Linked DNA regions of Homo sapiens: region 1 is linked to region 2. The links are contacts of gene promoters, found by promoter capture Hi-C in blood cells and fetal thymus (Javierre and others, 2016). All regions are on one chromosome and are shown on one strand. Each heading gives the region's core, a stretch centred on a gene start or on the middle of the fragment in contact. The rest is flanking DNA. Distances are from core to core; before and after follow the strand shown. Region 1 has its middle 110 kb from the start of GPAT3. Region 2 holds the start of CDS1 (CDP-diacylglycerol synthase 1).

What was found. Contacts are between HindIII fragments. The CHiCAGO score rates a contact against its expected background, and 5 or more counts as called.
Region 1: a fragment that was not itself captured here is called in contact with the fragment with the promoter of CDS1 in region 2 in 7 of 17 cell types (total CD4 T cells, naive CD8 T cells, naive CD4 T cells and 4 more); the score reaches 12.6 in total CD4 T cells.

Annotation. Positions count from the first base shown.
Region 1 is chr4:83,640,031-83,646,325 of GRCh38, reverse strand. No RefSeq gene overlaps it. Among named protein-coding and RNA genes, the nearest start is that of GPAT3, 110 kb to the right of the region's middle. RefSeq lists an enhancer at 6,130-6,179. The HindIII fragment of the contact is 2,178 bases long and covers 1,428-3,605 here.
Region 2 is chr4:84,579,409-84,584,922 of GRCh38, reverse strand. CDS1 (CDP-diacylglycerol synthase 1) reads right to left here and starts at 1,796. Exons shown (of 13, transcript NM_001263.4): 1 at 1,405-1,796. The coding sequence starts at 1,521. LOC102723338 (a long non-coding RNA gene) reads left to right here and starts at 2,702. Exons shown (of 8, transcript XR_007058460.1): 1 at 2,702-3,374. RefSeq lists silencers at 1,840-1,939, 1,980-2,189 and an enhancer at 1,050-2,003. The HindIII fragment of the contact is 8,586 bases long and covers 1-5,514 here.

The DNA.
Region 1 (6,295 bases), core at 1,267-3,766, 940 kb after region 2:
TATTTCAAACTTTGCAACAATCTTAAGAGCTAGGAATGATAATTCCTGTTTTTAAGGGAGAAAGCCAAGGCTTAGTAAATTGCCCAAAATCACACGGCTGAAAAATTAGGTTGGAATCCAGACCAGGACTGTGTGTTTCCAAAGACACCCTTGTTCTTTGACCCCATTTCAAAATCTTTGATGTTCGTGTCTTCTAAAAGATTTCACTCCCCAGAAAGTAATTGGATAGCTTTCTGCTGCTGCATGGGAAAACTTTTGTCGTCTCAAATGTTTCTGGAGGGAGAGGAAGGGGTAAATCTCGGGGCAGTCGTGTTAGTGTCCTGGCACTAGAGCTGTCATTTTAGAACCTGCGAGAAGACTAGAATATTCTAGGCTAGTCCTAGAATATTATTTTGGCCATTTCACTGTGTCTTTGAGCCTTCTTCGGGCATCCTGGAAAAGGGAGTGATTATGACATTTAGGTATGATGAATGATAATCCTTTTTAAATCTATTAACTGGATTTTGATAAACATCTAAAATGACCGTAGTTCTTCCCTCTGCATTGAAAGGAGTGATGCAAGAGGAATAACCAGTGTGTTGGCAATTCTTACTTCTTGGTTGCCTCCAGACTAAACAAGGTCTTCGTATAGAGGAGCAGAGACCTTGCTACAGGAAGACCATGGAGGCAGGGAACAACCACTCCTCTCCTTGCACCACAGCTCTTGGACTGAGTTCTTTGGCTGTGATGGAAAAGAAGCAGTGTCTCTATAAGGCCTAAAAACCCCTGGCTAAAGGCTAATCTCAAAGGGAGGGCTCTGTCTTACTAAAATTTGTGGATTCCCAGTGCTTGGCAGACTGCCTGGTACACAGTAGACCCCCAGTAAGTGTTTATTAGATTCAATTGAAATATTAAGACAGCTCAGCAGTTTGTCAAGTTATAAATGCAGGAGTATGAGAATTACTTTGTGAGCTGTTTTTAAATATAGTAATTTGTGAGCATAATTGTATTTCATATGTGGTAATTCACAAAGTTAAGCCCAGCACTTCCCAGTTCATCTTAAAGCTATCTATTCAAGCAACTCTTGACTCTATAACAAAAACTATCCACTATCCATTATATCTGAATTTTTCTCAGCATATGTGCCCATCCAGAATAGTATTTCAAAACTGGAATTATCCAGGCCACACTGGAGCATATAATCAACTTGGAATTAGCCATTTTTTTCTTTTTTATTATTTCTTCCCCATATTGGCTGCAGTTGTATGAATTACAGATTTTATCTCCCTCAGACTTTTTTGCTTATGGAGTGGGGTGACTGATTTTGGTGCTTTCTCTTTTATTGCCTGTCTGACGTTAAAAATCCTATCAACCGTTCGGAAACTAATCTAATTCATTTCGAGAATAATGTTGTGAACTCTATTTACAGAATCCAAAGCCATAAAGCTTCTAATGCTACGTGAAACAGCACCCCCTACTGGCAATGTTGTCACATTACATCATCATATCCTCAGCACTGAAATCCATCTCTCTCCTGTTGAGAAACTTTGACAAGTAACTTCACAAACAGAACCTATTTAAAATACTTCAAATAGAACAAATCTCTTACTCTGTTTTACCTTCATGGAAACTATTCCTTGATAACAATTTTTGCTAAGAAAGGAAAATATGTGATCTCCCTTTTTCTAGGACCATAAAGTTGTAAAAGGCAAGTTTATTTCAAACTTAACATCAGGTGGGTCCAAACCATGCACTTCATGTCTCTGTGTTTCAGCAGTACAATTCTTTGTATAGCAAATGTACTTTCTTACAAAACACCAAAACTAGCTTTAAAAATAATTGCATATGATTTTTTCACTGTGACCATTTATTCATTCCCGACCACAGCATTCATTCAACAAGTAATTTTTTTTTTTTTTTGAGATGGAGTCTCACTCTGTTGCCCAGGCTGGAGTGCAGTGGTGTGATCTCAGCTCACTGCAACCTCTGCCTCCTGGCTTCAAGCGATTATCTTGCCTCAGCCTCCCAAGTAGATGGGATTACAGACACGTGCCACCACGCCCGACTAAAATATATATATATATATTTTGTATTTTTTGTGGAGACAGGGTTTCACCATGTTGGCCAGGCTGATCTTGAACTCCTGACCTCAAGTGATTTGCCTGCCTCTGCCTCCCAAATTGCTGGGGTTAGAGGCGTGAGCCTCTGCACCCGGCTACATTTAACAAATATTTACTGATCATCTAGGCTTGAGAATACCACAGTGAATAGCATGCATCTGGTCCCTGCCCACATAGAGCTTACAGCTGAGGTGACAGAATAAACCCATCCAATGCTGGATTTGACTAAGGAAACATCTGTGGAATCACAGAGCAAGGGTACTAGCATAGCCAACGGGAATTCAGAGAACCTTATCGCTGGCACTGTGAGTGCCCCAACCATTCCCCAGGACACACTGAAAGTTACTTGGCGCTTCAGTAGATTGTTCTCATCTTATTCTTGGTTTCCCGCATCAAACACCTGCATTTCTCTGGCCGAGGACTTCTGCTAGCGACAAAATGGGCAAGCTAAAAGTACCAGGGAATTAAGCAACCCTCAGCCAGTGAGGGACAGGAGTTGGTGGATAGACACCCTAGCTCCCTTGCCCTTCAATAGATAATTCTGAAGTGTATTCCACTCAGGCTCTTAGAAAGTCCCTGGCCAGGCACAGTGGCTCACACCTGTAATCCCAGCACTTTGGGAGGCCGAGGCGGGCGGATCATGAGGTCAGGAGTTTGAGACCAGTCTGGCCAACACAGTGAACCCTGTCTCTACTAAAAATACAAAAATTAGCAGGGTGTGGTGGTGTGTGCCTGTAATCCCAGCTACTCAAGAGGATGAGACAGGAGAATCACGTGAACCAGGAGGCAGAGGTTGCAGTGAGCTGAGATTGCGCCACTGCACTCCAGCCCAGGTGACAGTGCGAGATTCAGGACAGAAAGGAAGAAGAAAAGAAAAGAAAAGAAAAGAAAAGAGAGAGAAGGAAGGAAGGAAGGAAGGAAGGAAGGAAGGAAGGAAGGAAGGAAGGAAAGGGAAGGAAAGGAAGGAAAGGAAGGAAAGGAAAGGAAGGAAGTCCCCAGTAGAATGTGCACAATTCATTGTTAACAGGACTGCTGGGATTTCAACAGGCTTGGTAAATGACATTCATCTTTCTCACAAATGTTGTGAGGCAATTAAGAAATCCGACCAAAGAATAAGGCAGCTAGGAGAATAGATATCACATTGTTAATATTGAAAAATGAGGCTACGTCTCTAGGCAAGTAGATCACATTGCACTCAAGAATTAAACTGCTGGTCTTTTTAAATTTTTATTTATTTTTTTGAGACCTGGTTATAAGACTGGCTAATTTTTGTATTTTTCGTAGAGATGGAGTTTCACCATGTTGCCGAGGCTGGTCTCAAAATCCTGAGCTCAAGCAATCCATCTCCCTCAGCTTCCCAAAGTGCTTAGATTACAGGCGTGGGCCACCGCACCCAGCCACTGCTTATCTTTTGAATCCCAAGCACCACTGGACTGGGCAAGCCTCTGAAAAACAGGGCCTGCCTGGTGCATTTATGACAAGGATGATCAGAGTGGAATGCAAGCTTCCAGAAGACAGGCTCCTCCCAAGAGAAAAAGGGAAGAGGCTGAGCCATTTGGTCAGTTATTCCTTCCACATTCACCAGTCAGATAAGTGACGTATCTTCCAGAAAGGAGCAAGGAAGGGGCATAAAAACACCAAGGAAGGGACCTAGAGAAGACACTATGTCTGAGCCTAAGAGGAACACACATCATCCAGAAATCCTAGACTAGTGGAGCTCCCTCCACAAGAATAAAACCTCAACAGTGGGAAAAAGGGTCCCCACCACCACACACTCCATCCCATGTCAAAACTTTAAGAGAGTTTTGCTAGTCCAGTGATTCCCTCATACCACCATTCAACATAGTAAATAAAAACAACATCTTTTGTAATTTCCATACTGTCAACACTCTTTCTGAGTGACACTGGTCCCCAATTAAGACAGCAGTAATCAATTATATGAACAAACAATAATCAATTATATGAACAATAATCAAGTCTCTATAGCATTAATAAATGGATTTTAGCCATGTAGTGCCTACTTTTAAAAGGCACTTAAGAAAGGCTTCACTTTTTTCTAATTATTCTTTCAACATGTATATAGCCCTTACTATATGCTAATACGGTGACATATTTATTTAACACTCACAATGACCTTACAAGTTGAGTACTAGTACAAGTTGAGTACCACTACTTAAATGAGAAAACTAAGAAAGCTAAGACTCTTGCTGAAGGTCACAGAGCTAATAAGAGTGAAGCCAGGAGTAAACATTGGTGACTTTTCTTTTTTTTTTTGAGACAGAGTTTCGCTCTTATTGCCCAGGCTAAAGTGCAATGGCGCAATCTCGACTTACCACAACCTCCGCCTCCCAGGTTCAAGCGATTCTCCTGCCTCAGCCTCCCGAGTAGCTGAGATTACAGGCGCACCACCACCATGCCCAGCTAATTTTGTATTTTCAGTAGAGACGAGGTTTCTCCATGTTGGTCAGGCTGGTCTCAAACTCCCGACCTCAGGTGATCTGCTCGCCTCAGCCTCCCAAAGTGCTGGGATTACAGGTGTGAACCGCTGTGCCCGGCCCACCTTGGTGACACTTATGTCAAAACTCATGCTCTGAAGTACTGTCCAATCCTTCCCTCTAATCATTAAGCTAGATGTTTGTCTTAGGAGGTCATTCAATGTGTTTTAAATTAGAAATGCCAGTAGGACAACCAGTTAGTGAATAAAGCAAATGGACTCAAATATTCTGCTTCATGAGTAATTGGCCCTCAAATGCACAAACCAAAATTTGCTAGAACAAAAGTCCACATAAACTAGGAAAAGGAAGAAAACGGTTCCATCATTTTTGACAAACTGTTGCCAAGTATCTTCCAACTTAAAATTGGTCCTAATAATAACTCTAACTCTTTGAGGTTCTATTTATCCCTGTTCTCTGTATCAGTGAGATTCTCTTATTTCTATGGTTTCAATTTTCATAAATACCACCTGTAAAATACATACAATTCTGTAAAAATGGTACAAATAGAACATACATGCAATTAATACTGCAATTACAGCCCCTTACTGCTTAGTTATTTGCTCATGTCTTTAAGTTCAGAGAAATGAGGGATGTACTCCTAGCACCTAAAATGATACCTGACAAATATTAGGGGCTCATATAAACACTTACTCAAAATACTGATTTAAATGAATAAATAGCTTTCAAGTGTTTAACTCAATAAAATAAGACACTTACAGGATTTGTCTCTTTTGGAAATCTTAAAAGGTATGTTAAGTGAATCCAAAATAGATTAAATAACTGGCTTTGTGGTCAAGTTTTTTTCTTAATGGAAATAGATTATTGGACCTGGAGTAGACACTACCTCTGAACCTAAGAGGAACACACATCATCCAGAAATCCTAGACGTGGTGTTGAACACATCAATTCAATGTGTCTTTAATTCCTCTTGGGAAGAAGATGAGTTTGTACTGTGTCTACTCAGGAAAGTTACAGCATTTAGGCACTTTGGGAATTGCATGCATGGGGAGAAGGGTATGGATGTGTTCTGGTATCTCAGTAGCAGAATGCGATAGGTTGCGGTTGCTCTTTTTAGTTTGCTCATTTGCCCAGCAAGCCTTCCCACTCCCTTCCTAAGGTAACATATTCTGTCTCTTCTTCTCCACCCCCCAACCACTGAGGATGATCACCCAACTCAAGCTGGCTGTTCATGGTGTCTCATTCCCCAGAATACATGATTGGTACAAGGCTTGGCATGAGACCCAATCAGGCCAGGGTCCTTCCTTGAGATTCTTCTGCTTGTAGCTAGCTGAGTCATAATGTGGAAAATTATTCAAAATCTGGATTTCTGATAACAACCTTCCTTGAAGCAAGATGGAATAAAACCAAAGGCCCTGGTTCCTACAGCAATTCCTTCTTCTGTGAGAAAACCCCTTCTTGCCGAAGCCAGTTTGAAATAGGTTTCTGTCACCTGATGCTGAAAAAGACCTGACTAATATACTAGGTCTTTGCCATAGTAGGATAATGTAACCTCCCTTTGTGACATTGGTTCTATGGAGAAATGTATTCAAGTCTCAACAGCCCGAAAGCCGTCATGAACTTTGTAAGCAGTCTCCAGCAAGTTGAGGATGAGTTGAATTCAATGCATTCATAATGCTGACCACAAGATGGCGCCTAAGACATTCTTTCAAAGGCCACTCATGCCCTACGTAAAGAATCCTA
Region 2 (5,514 bases), core at 547-3,046:
TTTGGGTCTAGTTTCCAAGGCAGTTTTCACAAAGACTATTCTCAGCCCACTGTTCCTAGTTTTGTAACTTCAACCTTCAGTAGCTGGAAATTGTTATATTTTGGGTAATTCCTTGACACTTATGTTTTATTACAGACTCATTTTATTCTACTTACTATCAAGGGTAAGGGGAAAAGTGTCACTACATTGATTCCATTGATTCTAAAGTTTTAGTACTAAGAATCACGTTTACGTTTATTTCGTGATATCATGTGATATGTTCCTATTAGGGCTTTGTAATTTGGGTTACATCAAACTCATCAACATCAACTTTCAGGTGGAATCCTCCCCAAATCAGAACTGCCAGCCAGTCTCAGCAACCACATAAACCAGAAGAAAAGGAATCAGGAAACTTAGATTCTAGTTTCAAGAGCCACGAACTTGACCTTGGGCAATCCACCTCACTTCTGTAATTCAAACTGCAATGCCTGCTTCCAAAGTATGCTTCTAGAAACAGTTTACGTGTTTTGGGTTTCTCAAATAAAATGGAATTTTCTAAACAGACGGTTTGATACAACAATCTATTCTCTGGTCCAATTTCCCAAACCATCCAGTCCATAAGATCATAAAACTGCATTTCTTCACAAGTTCTTACTTGCACCACTATATTACCAAACACGCCCGAATTCCTTTTCTAGCTTTAAACAGATAGTAATATCGCATCTACTTATTCTTAAATGTGAAAGAAGAGTAATCTATAGAAAAGGAAGTGAAAAGTCTTCATGAATTAACGTCGGGTTATATGAAATCTACTGGTAGACAGAAGAATTGCACTGTCTGTCGTGTACTCAAAAGAAGCTGGAAGATTACTATTATGTCACGTGCATGATACTCTAAAACCTCCAAAATCTATCATACTGAAAAAGGATGGAGAAAATGTAAGTGCATATGGGGCAGCGCGAGAAGCCAAGCCTCCCGCGTCAGGATCCGATGAAATGATACAGCCGACGGTGGCACGTCTCTAGTCCTTACTAACTTTGTTCCCTCTACTGAAAAGAGAGGTGAGGTGGCAGCTACTAACTGCACTGCAGCCCCTAGGAGGACAGGTTCCCTCCTGATTCCAGCGTCGGCCCCAGATCCTGAAGAAGGGACCGGAAGAGGATGAAGCTAAACTGTAAGCCGGGTTGAGTGGCCCATTTCTCCCGGGCAGCGGCCGCGGTCATCCTGGGAACCTCACCGCCACTGGGATCCCGGGTCCCGACCCCCTCTGGAGAAGGAGGAAGCAGTGCCAGGCAGGGAGGAAGGTGCACCGGCAGCGTGCAGCCTCACCTGACGCTGGACGGGCCCCACCCTTGCTCTCAAGTGTCCCGCTTCCAACCAGGACCCAGCCAGGGCGCGGCGTCCGCCTCTCTCGGCTCCACTTACTTTGTCGCTGGTGCTCTCGGTTTCGTGGTCGCCGCCGGCCGCCTCTCCCTCGCGGTGTGGCGGCGACACCGCTTCCCTGGGGCCGGGGCAGCTTCCCCGGTGCCTCAGCTCCAACATCTTCCGCTCCCGCGCTGCCGTGGCGGCCTCCTCAAGCACCCCGAAACCTGAGCTGCAAGCAGGGTTCTGCAGGCGGGGCGCCCCGCCACCTCGCAGCCGCGCCCTGGAGTCCCGCGGAGCCGCAGCCACTAACGCGGCCCCACCATAGAGCGGCCGCCGCGCCGGTCACCTCCAAAACGGCATCAACGAGAGAGCGCTCGAGGCCGCCTGCAGCGAGCGCGGCTCCGGCGGAGGTCCCGGGCAGGCTCCGGGCGCCAGGCGCGAGCAGAGAAGGCGGAGACGCGGCCTCCGGTTGCCAGGTGCGCGTCTCCACGCAGAGGCCCAGGTAGGAGGAGGAGAAGGGGCGGGGAGAAAAGGAGGACGCTTGACCCGCTTTAGCGCGGCTCTGGGCTCCCGCCGCCGCGCAGGCCCCTCCCGCCCCGCCCCCCGGAGCCGGACTCGGAGCCGGCTTGTCCCGGCCCCGCACACTTCTCCCTGCCCGGGCCTCCCGCACCAGGTCTCGCGCCGCAGGCCCCGCCCCTCTGCGCTGCACTGCGGTTCCCACAGCCCCGCCTCCCCGTGAGGTGACGTCAGGAGCCCGGCCCGCGACCCCGCCCCCGCCTCTGCGTGCTGGCAGGTGGGGGCCTGAGAAAAGGTGGGAGCGGTGGGGCGGGAGGAGGCTGAGGAGCTGGGAGGCGGAGGCGGGGCCAGCGCGGGCTGGAAGTGAGCGTTGAGAACTTGCAGGCTAGTCCCTGGGCCGCTGCGAGGGCTGGAGGAGCTACTCAAAGACGCCCGCTAAATGTTAACAGCGCTCAACACTGCTGCTTCAAACGCCTCCCCGGCCTTGTCAGCTTGACACGCGCGGCGGGTCGGAGGCTCACTGGACCAGAAACTTGTCTGGCAGGACGGACTGGTTGGCCCCGCGGCATTCCAGCCCAGTGTCATCACCTTGAAAACAGGAGATGCTTTTGCCTCACTGGGCGTCCAGAGGTGCGTCGGCCAACAATTCCGATCACAACCGCAGCGCCGTCTCCCAGAAACTCAGTACTGAATCTCACAAAGGTCACCACCTAGGATCCCAACACAGTGTGAGATGCTATGGGACGCCGTTGCCCTCCAGCTAGTCTCTGAGCAGTGGTGGACCTTGGGCTGCCAAAGCGGGAACAGGAAGGGCACAAGATCTGCATTAATTCTAGTCTTAATCCTGTTAGAAGGTGATTAGTTTTCTTGACATGTATCCGCCACCCGGTCATTACTGACAAGCTAACAAATGAAAAAAAGAGAGAAACAAAGAGAAAAAAGAAAAAAGGCGGGCCTTCACACAGGACAAGGTTCAGGAGAGCACCCTTATAGAAATAGATCAACTATGTAAATTCCTCAAGGTCTTTACTGACACGGTAAAAGTAAGTAAAGTGTTGAAAATTTACTAACAAATGAGCAAAACCAAAAGTCAAATTAGGATGCATTGAAAAGCAGAACACAAAGACATCATTTTACCTCACCAAACAGATCTTTGAAGCTGTGCGGTTAGTTTGGGTTGCACGTTTTCAAAAGGATGTCGAGAAACCATAATTTGTTCCTTATGGGGTGGATAACTGAAATGACAGAGAAGATTTGAAAATAAGTCCCTACTGAACAGAGAACTATGGGGTGACTACATTAATAAATTGTCCAATTGTTTGGAGGATCGGAAATGAAGGAGTGCTTGATAGTGAAGAAGATAATCAGAATAATGGCTGAAGCCAGTAGTAGGGTTTCCATCTCTGGCTACTACCCTACCCTGCATAAAGGATTAGAAGTGCTCCATTCTAACTCTCTGGAAGTCAAGAAGCCTGAGTTCTAGTGCTGCCAATGCCACTAATTGCATGGCCTTGGTAAGTTATTAACCCTCAGTGTCCTCAGCTGTAAACGGATAGTAAGGATGGCCTCTGTGGTCCCTTTTAGCTCTTAGACGATCAGAATCCAGCCTTTGCTTTCCCCCATGGTCCAAGAAAAGGAGACCTACTACACAAGGTACCTGAACAACTTCCTGTTTCCCCTTTGCCTAGTCCTCTCATGGCCTCTTTGACTTTTTCCCTTTGCTGCAGGAGGAAAAAAGAGAGTGAGAGGAGTGACAGAGGGGAACAACAGAGGACAGTAGTGCGTGATAGAAGAAACAGTATTCCCCAACCCAGGAAAAGTGGGACCAATGCAAAGACTGCCAAAATAGAATGTGAGGTTCTACTTACCTCACCTTCCTTAAGCTCTGCTCCTTCTTGTGTTTTAGCTAAGAGAGCAATTTCTTTCAATCTTCTTCATTATAGCTATTACCACTAGTTGAGTGAATAGACTGAGTCCAGACAGCAGAAACTGGCTTATTCATCTTTACAGGTCTAGCTCTTTCCACAGTGCCAAAAACCACCCTTCTATAGGTAACAATGTTTGCTGAAGAGGTGAATGAAGAAATGATGGGATGGCAAAGGTATAGCACAACAAGGGAAATTTATACAGTCATATGTTGTTTAACAGTGGGGATACATTCTTAGAAATGCATCATTGGGCAACATCACAGGGTATACTAAACCTAGATGGCATAGCCTACTGCACACCCAGGCTACATGGTATAGCCTATTACTTAGACAACTGTAACACAATGGTAAGTATTTGTGTATCTAAACATAGAAAAGGTACTATAAAAATATGGTATTATAATCTTATAGGCTACAGTGGTATATGTGGTCCATTGTTGACTGAAACATTGTTATGCAACCCATGAATGTATAGTATTTATGGTTTCTTCATTTAAAGTCTATTTTAGACTTACATAGACACTTTTCTTCATTTTCACTTTATATCAGAGAGAAGTTGATTTTAATACTTATTAAAAGTGGTTGTAGTAATGACTTTATTTTACTTAAGATACTGTACAATATACTCAACCACAACTGGCTTACGGAACTCTGTGTTCTCAGACTTTTTCTATGTCTTTTTTCTAATTTTTCCTTTTTCTTTCTTTTTTATTTTTATCTTTCGTTTTCATTCAGGGAACTTATGTTCTCTAAATTTATTGTATTTGTGTTTGGTAACACAAAATCTGGCGTGTAATGGTTTCTAAGGCTTTACCTGTTAATTTTTCTTGTATTTATCCTGCTGAAGGGCTTCATGGAAACCCTAAGCATATGCATGGGCCTAATCACGTAGTACAACCCAGCCAGCACTTCTTGGATTGATTTTAAGATTTTCCAGCCGGGCGTGGTGGCTCACATCTGTAATTCCAGCACTTTAGGAGGCTGATGCATGAATGTCTCTTGAGCCCAGAAGTTCAAGACCAGCCTGGGCAACATATGGAGACCCCATCTCTACACAAAAATTTAAAAATTAGCTGGGCATGGTGGCGTGTGCCTGTAGTCCCAGCTACTTGGAAAGCTGAGGCGGGTGGATTGCTTGGGCCTGGGAGTTCGAGGCCTCTGTGACCCCTGTTCACTCTACTGCACTCTAGCCTGGGTGACAGAGTGAGACCCTATCTCAAAAAAATTAAAAAAAAAATTTTAAAAAAAATTTTTTTTCACCTTCTAACTCCTAATGAGGAATTTGCTAGAGAGATGAGAGAGAGTGCTAACGTTATTGCTTATATGGTTTTTATTTTAGATTACTGTTTACCTTCTCTTTTGCTGGAAGTAATAAGAGCATAAGATGCAGAGACGTTGCCTGAAGTAGTGAGAGTAGATGAAGCAGTTTGTTACCACTCTTCCCTGAATACCCTCAGAATGTTCCCAGACTGATAAACATGCCCCTCTGGGGTGGGAATGTGAATCTGAGCTGCTTTTCACATCAGAGGCTCAAAGGTGCCCTGCTGGAATGTCCCCAGCTTGCCAGGGGCGGAAGAAATCTTCCTCAGCCAAGCGTTTCCAGTTGCTTAGATACCCAAGTAACAGCTTTTGTCGCTTGACCTATCTTTCTCTGTTGCCCTCTGTCAGCTTTGTTTATAAGTTAGAGGTAGGAATTTCTGATTTAGGCCACCAGAGAAACATTTTA